Regions from separate parts of the Homo sapiens genome. Here region 1 is linked to region 2. The links are contacts of gene promoters, found by promoter capture Hi-C in human tissues and cell types (Jung and others, 2019). All regions are on one chromosome and are shown on one strand. The core of a region is centred on a gene start or on the middle of the fragment in contact, and the rest is flanking DNA. Distances in the headings are between cores, read along the strand shown.

Region 1 (4,192 bases), core at 987-3,486, 1.3 Mb after region 2:
CCCCTGTGTGATGAAATGTGCCTCTCGCCTTACCCGTGTGAGAATACCTGTGGTGTGGCAGCGAGTATTTTGGTGAGCACCTGCAGTGTAGTGGTTTATACTAAGGAATACACACAAATTACAGGCCTTTGAGCCCAGAATGCAACTTGGGAGGTAAGACGTGACGTTCTGAGAGATTGAAAAATGTACATTGTCGTCGTGCCTCGAATAACGGTTCATTGCAGAGAGAGATGCTAACAAAAAGTGCCGGGCATGCGGGTAGGTGGAAAGGGTTTTGCGAGCCAGAATTTGCAAGTTGAATGTTTTGTTTTTATGTTTTGTTTTTAAGGCACTGTACATCACTTACTTGAAGATAGATACGTAAAGGATGCTTATTTTACACTCTTTAAACGAATATGTTAATACTTTTTCGGTCATTGAAGTAATTAAACCTTCATTTTAAACTGTTGACTTAATAGAAATCGTTTATGTCTTCTTTTTTTTTCTTTTTGCTGCAGAGAGGTATTTTTTCTTTATTTTATTATTATTTTTTATACTTTAAGTTCTAGGGTACATATGCACGACGTGCAGGTTTGTTACATATGCATACATGTGCCATGTTGGTGTGCTGCACCCATTAACTCGTCATTTACTTTAGGTATATCTCCTAATCCTATCCCTCCCCCCACCCCACGGCAGGCCCCGGTGTGTGACGTTCCCCTTCCTGTGTCCAGGTGTTCTCATTGTTCAGTTCCCACCTATGATTGAGAACATGCGGGCTACAGAGAGGTATTTTACAGTTATTGGTCTCATGACTTGATTTCCATCCCTGACATAGCCATGTCCCAGCTGTGTGACCTTGGACATTTACTGCCTTACGCCTCTTCCCCCAACTCTAAAATGAAATTATAGTAGCTGTCTTACAGAGTTTTTCTGAAGGTTAGGTAGAATATAAATATTCTATAATATATAATTATATATTAAATAATATATAAATACAAATATTAATATTAATATTCTATAGTTTCTGGTATGTGGGAAACAAATGGTGACTTTTATTCACAATTATATATAGGCCCATTTGTTTATCTGTTAGAGTTAAAGATAGAATAAAAACCTCTTTGGTAACAAAACTAATGCAGTGCACCTAATTCTACTTTTAAAAACTTTTTTACAGAAATAAATGTACACAAGAGAAATACTGGAATTATGAACCCCATTGTATACGCACCCACCCAGCTTCAGAAATTGTTGAAGTTCAGCCCTTGTTTCATCTCTTCACCCAACATCCATTTTTGTTTGTTTTTGCTGGATTTTTTTTTTTTCAAGCAAATCGCAGAGTATATCCCTTTACCTGTAAATATCTCGGTAAATATCCCTTTAACAGATAAGGCCTTTCTAAAAAAAAAACAAACAAAACCGCATCATTATCATACCCAAGAAAATTAATAATTTCCTAATATCTAAAATCCAGCTCATATTTAGTTTCTGGATTATTTTTTAAAAGTCTAATCACAATTTTTGCAAAGCTTGATAGTTTATTTTTGTAGCTCTTGACGGTTCACCAAGTGGCTTCACATATACTCCTGCTCCCTTCAGAATTACTCTTTCAGCCCCTTTGTCAGAGACCTCAGGAAATGGTTAGCAGGAAACAATCAGTTTGCTTTGGCTAAGGAGCCAGATGTGAGGTTTAGTAGACTTGCTGATCACTATTACTTTTTAAGTTGTAGCTAATTAATGGTTTCATTTTAAGAACACATATTAAAATATTTACTAATCCATTCAAACTTCTTAACCTGTTGGTTTCTTCAAGGACTATGTAATAAACTTAATGATTCACCTTTATTCTAAGAGAGGCATGAAGTAACATTACCCTAATTGTCTTATGACTCTAAGATGTTTCTGTATTCATAGATCTTTGCTGTGTTTAAATCTTACTGACTTCTCTTGTTTTTGGAAAGTTATACAGATCCTCATCTGTGTTAATACATCAGTCAACTGTCTCTTTTATAAAATATATATAGATATGTGTATATATGTGGATGCTTGTTAAGTCAAGACTAAGAATATTTTTCAGTTTTGGGCTCAGTATGTTTCACCAATTCAAAAGTTAAAAAAACCAATTTTTTTTTTTAATTGAGACAGGGTCTCTGTCGCTCAGGCTGGAATGCAGTGGCACGATCTCCGCTCACTGCAAATTCCGCCTCCCAGTTTCAGGCAATTCTCCTGCCTCAACCTCCTGAGTAGCTGGGGCCACAGGCACGCACTACCACACCTGGCAAATTTTTGTATTTTTAGTAAAGATGGGGTTTCACCATGGTGGCCAGGCTGATCTCAAACTCCTGGCCTCAAGTGATCTGCCCACCTCAGCCTCCCAAAGAGCTAGGATTACAGGCAAGAGCCATCTCCCCCAGCCAAAACAATACATTAGTCTATAGTGGTAAATTAATACTGACCATGAATGATAAAAACCCCTCAATATCTGAATCCTTTCTGTTTAATATAATTGAGATAATTTCTTCCTCTAAGAGAAATAAGAAAATTTGCCTGAAAATTTACCTCATATAGCCAAATAACTGAAATCAGAACTTTTCTCACCATTATCATCTTTCCTTATTCTTTCCTTCCCCTCCCAAATTCTAAAAATGATTGATTATAGGTAAATAAGGAAATGGTAAATGAGGATATCTGGGCTTGTGTTTCATCCTGATTTCAAAGTACATAAAGATAAATGCAAAGTTCATTTATGTTGCAATCTGTCATTTCAGGTATTTGACCTGTCCAAAGACGACTTGATACCTCTATAATGTAACAGAAAAGGTCAGAAAATATTAAGCAAGTAGAAGTGTGGAGCATATTAAGCAAGATGAACATCTCGGGAAGCAGCTGTGGAAGCCCTAACTCTGCAGATACATCTAGTGACTTTAAGGACCTTTGGACAAAACTAAAAGAATGTCATGATAGAGAAGTACAAGGTAAAATCTTTTCTTAAATACTTACAGCAGTATTTTGTTGAGACTGTAGTGGCTTTGTATACCTTTGTATGACAGTCCTGTTTATTATTTCTATTTCAGCTTTTAGGTTCCGGGGGTACATGTGCAGATTTGGTACATGGATAGATTGCATGTTGCTGGGGTTTGGTGTGCAAATGATTTCATCACCCAGGTAGTGAGCATGGTACCCCATAGGTAGTTTTTCAATCCCCACCCTCTTCCCACCCCCCTGACCCTCCACCCTCATGTAGGTCCCAGTACCTGTTGTTCCCCTCTTTGTGTCCATGTGTACTAAATGTGTAGCTCCCACTTATAAATGAGAACATGCAGTATTTCTGTTGTCTGCTCAGGGTAATGGCTTCATCTGCATCCATGTTGCTGCAAAGAAAATAATTTTGTTCTTTTTTATGGCTTCATTGTATTCCATGATGTATATATACTTTTTTTTAATTCAGTCCACTGTTGAATTTTGTACATTTAATGGCCATCTTTAAATTCAAAGATATCTTTTTTTTTTTTTTATTTTTTTTGAGACAGGGTCTCACTGTGTCACCAGGCTGGGGTGTAGTGGTGTGATCACAGCTCACTGCAGCTTCAACCTCCCATTCTCAAGTGAGCCTCCCTCCTGTAGTTGGGACCATAGGCACACGCTGCCATGCCTGGCTAATTTTTTATTTTTTGTAGAGTCAGGGTCTCACTATGTTGCCCAGGCTGGTCTTGAACTCCTGGCCTCAAGTGATCCTTCTGTCTCTGCCTCCCAAAGTGGTGGGATTACAGACGTGAGCCACTGCGCCTGGCCCAAAGATCTCATTATTTATTTATTTATTTATATATTCATGTATTTATTTATTTACTAATTAATTTTCAGAGAGGTTCTCACTCCGTTGCCCAGGCTGGAGTGCAGTGGTATGGTCACAGCTCACTGCAGCTTTAACCTCCCAGGCTCAGGTGTTCCTCCCACCTTAGCCTCCTGGGTACCTGGGACTACAGGTGTGCACCACCACGCCCAGCTAATTTTATGTATTTTTTGTAGAGACAGAGTTTTGCCTTTTTGCCCAGGCTGGTCTTGAACTTCTGGGCTCAAGCAGTCCACTGGCCTCAGCCTCCCAAAGTGCTAGGATTACAGGTGTCCGCTGCTGTGCCCAGCTGATCTTTTTTTCTTTTTCTTTTTGAGACAGGGTCTTGCTTTGTCACCCATGCTGGAGTGCAGTGGTGCAAAC
Region 2 (4,538 bases), core at 1,287-3,786:
AAAGTCATGAAAAAATATTTAACTATTACAAAAAAATCCATTATTCGAACTGTGCAGCGCTGGTCACGTTCATTAACAGAATAAATACAATCAGCTCTGCATAATAAATTACCAAGCTAAAAAGGACTATCTGGCAAAAGAAGTTAATGGCATTCATTAATTAGGGTACTTTTTTAGTTATTCTGTGAAGCATAATTTATCAATTTAAATGCCAGCACCTTGTATGGGACGGACATTAAAAAAATTACTTGGCCGGGCATGGTGGCTCACGCCTGTAATCCCAGCACTTTGGGAGGCCGAGGCAGGCGGATCACCTGAGGTCAGGAGTTCAAGACCAGCCTGGCCAACACGGTGAAACCCTATCTCTACTAAAAATACAAAAAAATTAGCCGGGCATGGTGGCACTTGTCTGTAATCCCAGCTACTCGGGAGGCCGAGGCAGGAGAATCACTTGAACCCAGGAGGCGGAGATTGCAGTGAGCCGAGATCTCGCCACTGCCCTCCAGCCCGGACGACAGAGTGAGACTCCATCTCAAAAAAAAAAAACAAACAATTACTTGTTCACTACAGGATTATAATATTGATTGAGAAAGGTGAGACAATAGCATATTTTCCTCAGTTAGCAATGATAAAGGAGTTCTAGCTCGTAAGCCAGGACAAATTTTGGAATTGTGCTTCCAAAGTCACATATCTGACCCAACAGTGATACTCTGCATTCTGCCTAAAAGGGAAAAAGTGGCTCTATTACAGTCCTAGTTTCCTCATTTCCTCACATGCTCTAGGCCTGAATTTGCGACTTCCAAATTAAGCACGTTTTAAAGCACTTCTCATCCTACTCCCATGTCTAATTCCATTGATTAGATTTTTTGCTTTTCAAAAAAAAAAAAAAATTCACCAGGCACAGTGGCTCAGGCCTGTAATCCCAGCACTTTTGGAGGCCCAGGTGATCACTTGATCCCAGGAGTTCGAGACCAGCCTGGGCAACATGGCGAAACGCCGTCTCAACAACAAATAGAAAACTTAGCCTAACATGGTAGCGGACGCCTGTAGTCTCAGCCACTCAGGGAGGCGGAGGTGGGAGGATTGCTTGGGGCCGGGGAGGGAGGTCAAGGCTGCAGTGAACAGTGATTACACCACTGCAATCCAGTCTGGGCGACAGAGCGAGACCCCGTCTCAAAATAAAATAATAACTTAAAACTTTATTCGTGTTGGTGTCCTGTGTAAAGCAGAAACTAAGTACTTGACCAGAAGACAAAGTGAATATAGCATAGTTCACTGCAACCTGGATGTTTTCAACTGAAATCTATGTTTTATCCACTTTTTTAAAAAAGCCAATGCTGGTGGGGGGACTAACCACACCTTATGCCACCAAGTAGCGCTTTTGTTTCCTGCGAAGCTTATTTATTGAGATATCGTTTTGTAATACTATCTAGATACTGTGTGCTGCGATTCCTGTTTAAAGGAATCTCATTGCAGCTAAGACTACAGAAAACATGGTTCATAGTACTTCTCAAATCGCAAAGCTTGAGCTCCTTCCTCCTCCTCTTCCTCCCTCCCCTGGTCCCCGCTGCGTCCCCATCGCCCCGGAAAATAAAGCACACGCCGGATTTTCGGACGCATCATTGAGAGGCGGAGGGAGAGGAGGTAGTCTTCGAATTGTTGGACTTGCTATCCCATTCTGCCTGTGCAAAATAAACCCCCATAGTAAAATAATCTTAACCCGTGATAAAAATCGAGGACCCAATTCTCTTTGGTTCGCCTCTCTCCATCGCTATAAACTTCACTGCGGCCCTCAATGCACTCATTTCTACTCCAGAGCCGCCCTACCTGTGCCGAGACCCCCATTTGCAGCATGAGTTACTCTATGACCTTGGGCCCGCTCCCCTCCCAAACTGAAGGCTGTAAAACCAAGACCCCACATCGCGCCCCGCAAACTGCAGAGGCCTCCAGGCTCAGGCCGGGTCAGCGGGTTGCGCCAGGAGGCGGCGAGGGACTGGCTCCGGTGAAGCGCCGGGAAGAGAAAACGCAGGGGGCGGAGACGGGGCCCGGAGCTACCTGCGGGACCAGCACTGGCGCTGCCCCGGTGCTAGCAATGGCTGCGCGCCACCTCGGGGCTCCCGGAGCCCTCGCGGCAGTGCTGGGAACTCCGGCCCTGCCCCGTCGGCGGTCACGACCCCTTATGAACTTCGACCGCCCAGCAAACAGCGGCAGGTGGTGCGCGGACACGCGAGCACGTTAGCTGCCTACCTCAAGCGACGGCGTCTTGGAGCCTAGAGCCTCCCACCTCCCTCCCAGGGGCGCGAAGAGCTGGGACCGGAGCAGTAGGAAGGGGCGTGCGAGGCAACACGCCACCGAGGGTGGAACAGGAAGAGGGAGAACTGTCCGCTCCCTGAAGGGGCTGGCAAAAGAGAGGTGAAGACACAGGCGGCGGGGACCGTCAGGGACGCTCGCGTACCTTCCTTTTGCCTGGCGGAGGGTCAGACTAGCGCCAGCGGATCGCCTCACATCCGGGTATCAGGAGACACTCAGCTGCTTCTGCTGCGGCCGCCGCCTCCCCCGCGGCGCAAACACCAAACTTCCGGCGACGACGGCGACGCCTCGCTCGTCAGATGGGAGTTACCTGTGACCGTCTTGGGTGCGCTTGCGCAACGCTCCTCTTCAGCCCTAACCGGCTCAGCTGACGTGCCCAGAAGACGAAGATGGCCGCCACGCTCACTGCGTGTCACGCAGTTTTTCACCCCGGCCCGGACGGCTGGGCGTCGAGGAAAGGCGAGCTAGTGTCCATCCTCAGCGCAGGCGCGGTGGGAGGCCTAGCGCGCGCGCCTCCGCGGGTGGTCGCCTGGCAGGGAAGTGGCGGCGCCCCCTAGCGGCGGCCGCTTGTCGTTCCTGGGGTCATCGCTTTGAGCTGAAAACCACCCAGGCCCCCAGCGGTTGTGGTTTACCTTGGAAATTTGTCGCAACTGGTTGCCATGTAGGTTTTGGCTGCTTCTGTCTGCGATGTATAATCCAAGTGCCTTTGGTCTTCCATATGAGCCAATGTAAAGAAGGAGGGTGGGGCCGGGCGCGGTGGTTCACGCCTGTAATCCCAGCACTTTGGGAAGCAGAGGCGGGTGGATCATTTGAGGTTAGGAGTTCGAGACCAGCCTGGCCAACATGGCCAACATGGTGAAACCCCGTCTCTACTAGAAATACAAAAATTAGCCGGGTGGTAGTGGCGTGCGACTGTAATCCCAGCTACTCGAGAGGCTGAGGCGGGAGAATCCCTTGAGCCTGGGAGGCGGAGGTTGTGGTGAGCTGAGACTGGGCCACTGCACTCTAGTCTGGACGAGTGAGACCCTGTCTCAAATAAAAAAAAAAGGAGGGTGCAGTCCCTACACTGCCCTCCAGCACCTCCAAAAAATGCAGGGCTTCGCCCTCTCCTTGCACACTTTCTTCCTGTGTATCAGAGTGCAAGAATCATCAGAAATTGTAAAATATTCTGCTAGACTTAGTCAGACTGAGTGTTCAGACAAAGCTTTGGCTCGCTCTTGGACGCCTCTAGAGATAGAATCCAAGATTCTATCACTAGGATTCATGGTTCCCACACTTCTTTCTTTTGTGACAGGAAGGATCTTGCTGTGTAGCCCTGGCTGGTGTGCAGTGGCACAGTAACGGCTCACTGCAGCCTCGACTTGGGCTCAAGCGATCCCACCTGCCTCAGCCTCCCTGAGAACTGCATGTATGAAGCCCACGACACCATGCCAGGCTAATTTTTTTTTTTTTTTTTGAGATGGAGTCTCACTCTTGTCACCCAGGCTAGAGTGCAATGGCACGATCTCGGCTCACTGCAACCTCCGCCTCCCAGGTTCAAGGAATTCTCCTGCCTCAGCCTCCTGAGTAGCTGGGACTACAGGTGCCTGCCACCATGCCCGGCTAATTTTTTATTTTTAGTAGAGACGGGGTTTCACCATCTTGGCCAGGCTGGTCTCGAACTTCTGACCTTGTGATCCCACCTGCCTCGGCCTCCCAAAGTGCTGGGATTACAGGCGTAAGCCACCGCGCCCGGCCGCCAGGCTAATTTTTTTATATTTTGTAGGGATAAGGTCTCACTGAGACCAGCCCAGGCTGATCTCGAACTCCTGGCCTCAAGTGATCCTCTCTTCTCTCCTTGGCTTCCCAAAGCGCTGGGACTACAGGCCTAAGCCACTGCTCCGGCTACTAGACTGCTTTTGAACATATGTTCTGTGCTACCCTTTGCTTATTTGCGGAACTGTGAGGCTAGTTCGGTACTTCTGCATTTCAGAATGGGAAGAGGTGATCATAAATGGGTTTTCCCCTTCCTGCCCTCCTTCTTTGAAGCCAAGTACAACCAAAATGTGCTCTAAGTTTGTCAAACCTGATGTTTTTCTGACAATTCATCTTCCACGAATAGTGAGCTGCCTGTCAGTTTGCGCAGGGAGATGTTATGGCTTAAAAACAAAAACGAGGCTGGGCGCAGTGGCTCACGTTTGTAATCCCAGCTGTTTGGGAGGTATTGATGGGTGAGGCCATTCTTCACA

Evidence for each region. Contacts are between HindIII fragments. The study calls those that stand out against the background at their distance.
Region 1: a fragment that was not itself captured here is called in contact with the fragment with the promoter of ESCO1 in region 2 in 1 of the 25 tissues and cell types used here (dorsolateral prefrontal cortex).

The regions. Positions count from the first base shown.
Region 1 is chr18:22,934,007-22,938,198 of GRCh38, forward strand. It overlaps RBBP8 (RB binding protein 8, endonuclease), which reads left to right. Exons shown (of 19, transcript NM_002894.3): 2 at 2,748-2,954. The coding sequence starts at 2,846. Among named protein-coding and RNA genes, the nearest start is that of RBBP8-AS1, 2.3 kb to the left of the region's middle. RefSeq lists an enhancer at 66-115. The HindIII fragment of the contact is 4,679 bases long and covers 1-4,192 here.
Region 2 is chr18:21,598,168-21,602,705 of GRCh38, forward strand. It overlaps ESCO1 (establishment of sister chromatid cohesion N-acetyltransferase 1), which reads right to left and starts at 2,537. Exons shown (of 12, transcript NM_052911.3): 1 at 2,456-2,537. RefSeq lists enhancers at 881-1,175, 2,243-2,762, 4,087-4,166. The HindIII fragment of the contact is 11,871 bases long and covers 1-4,538 here.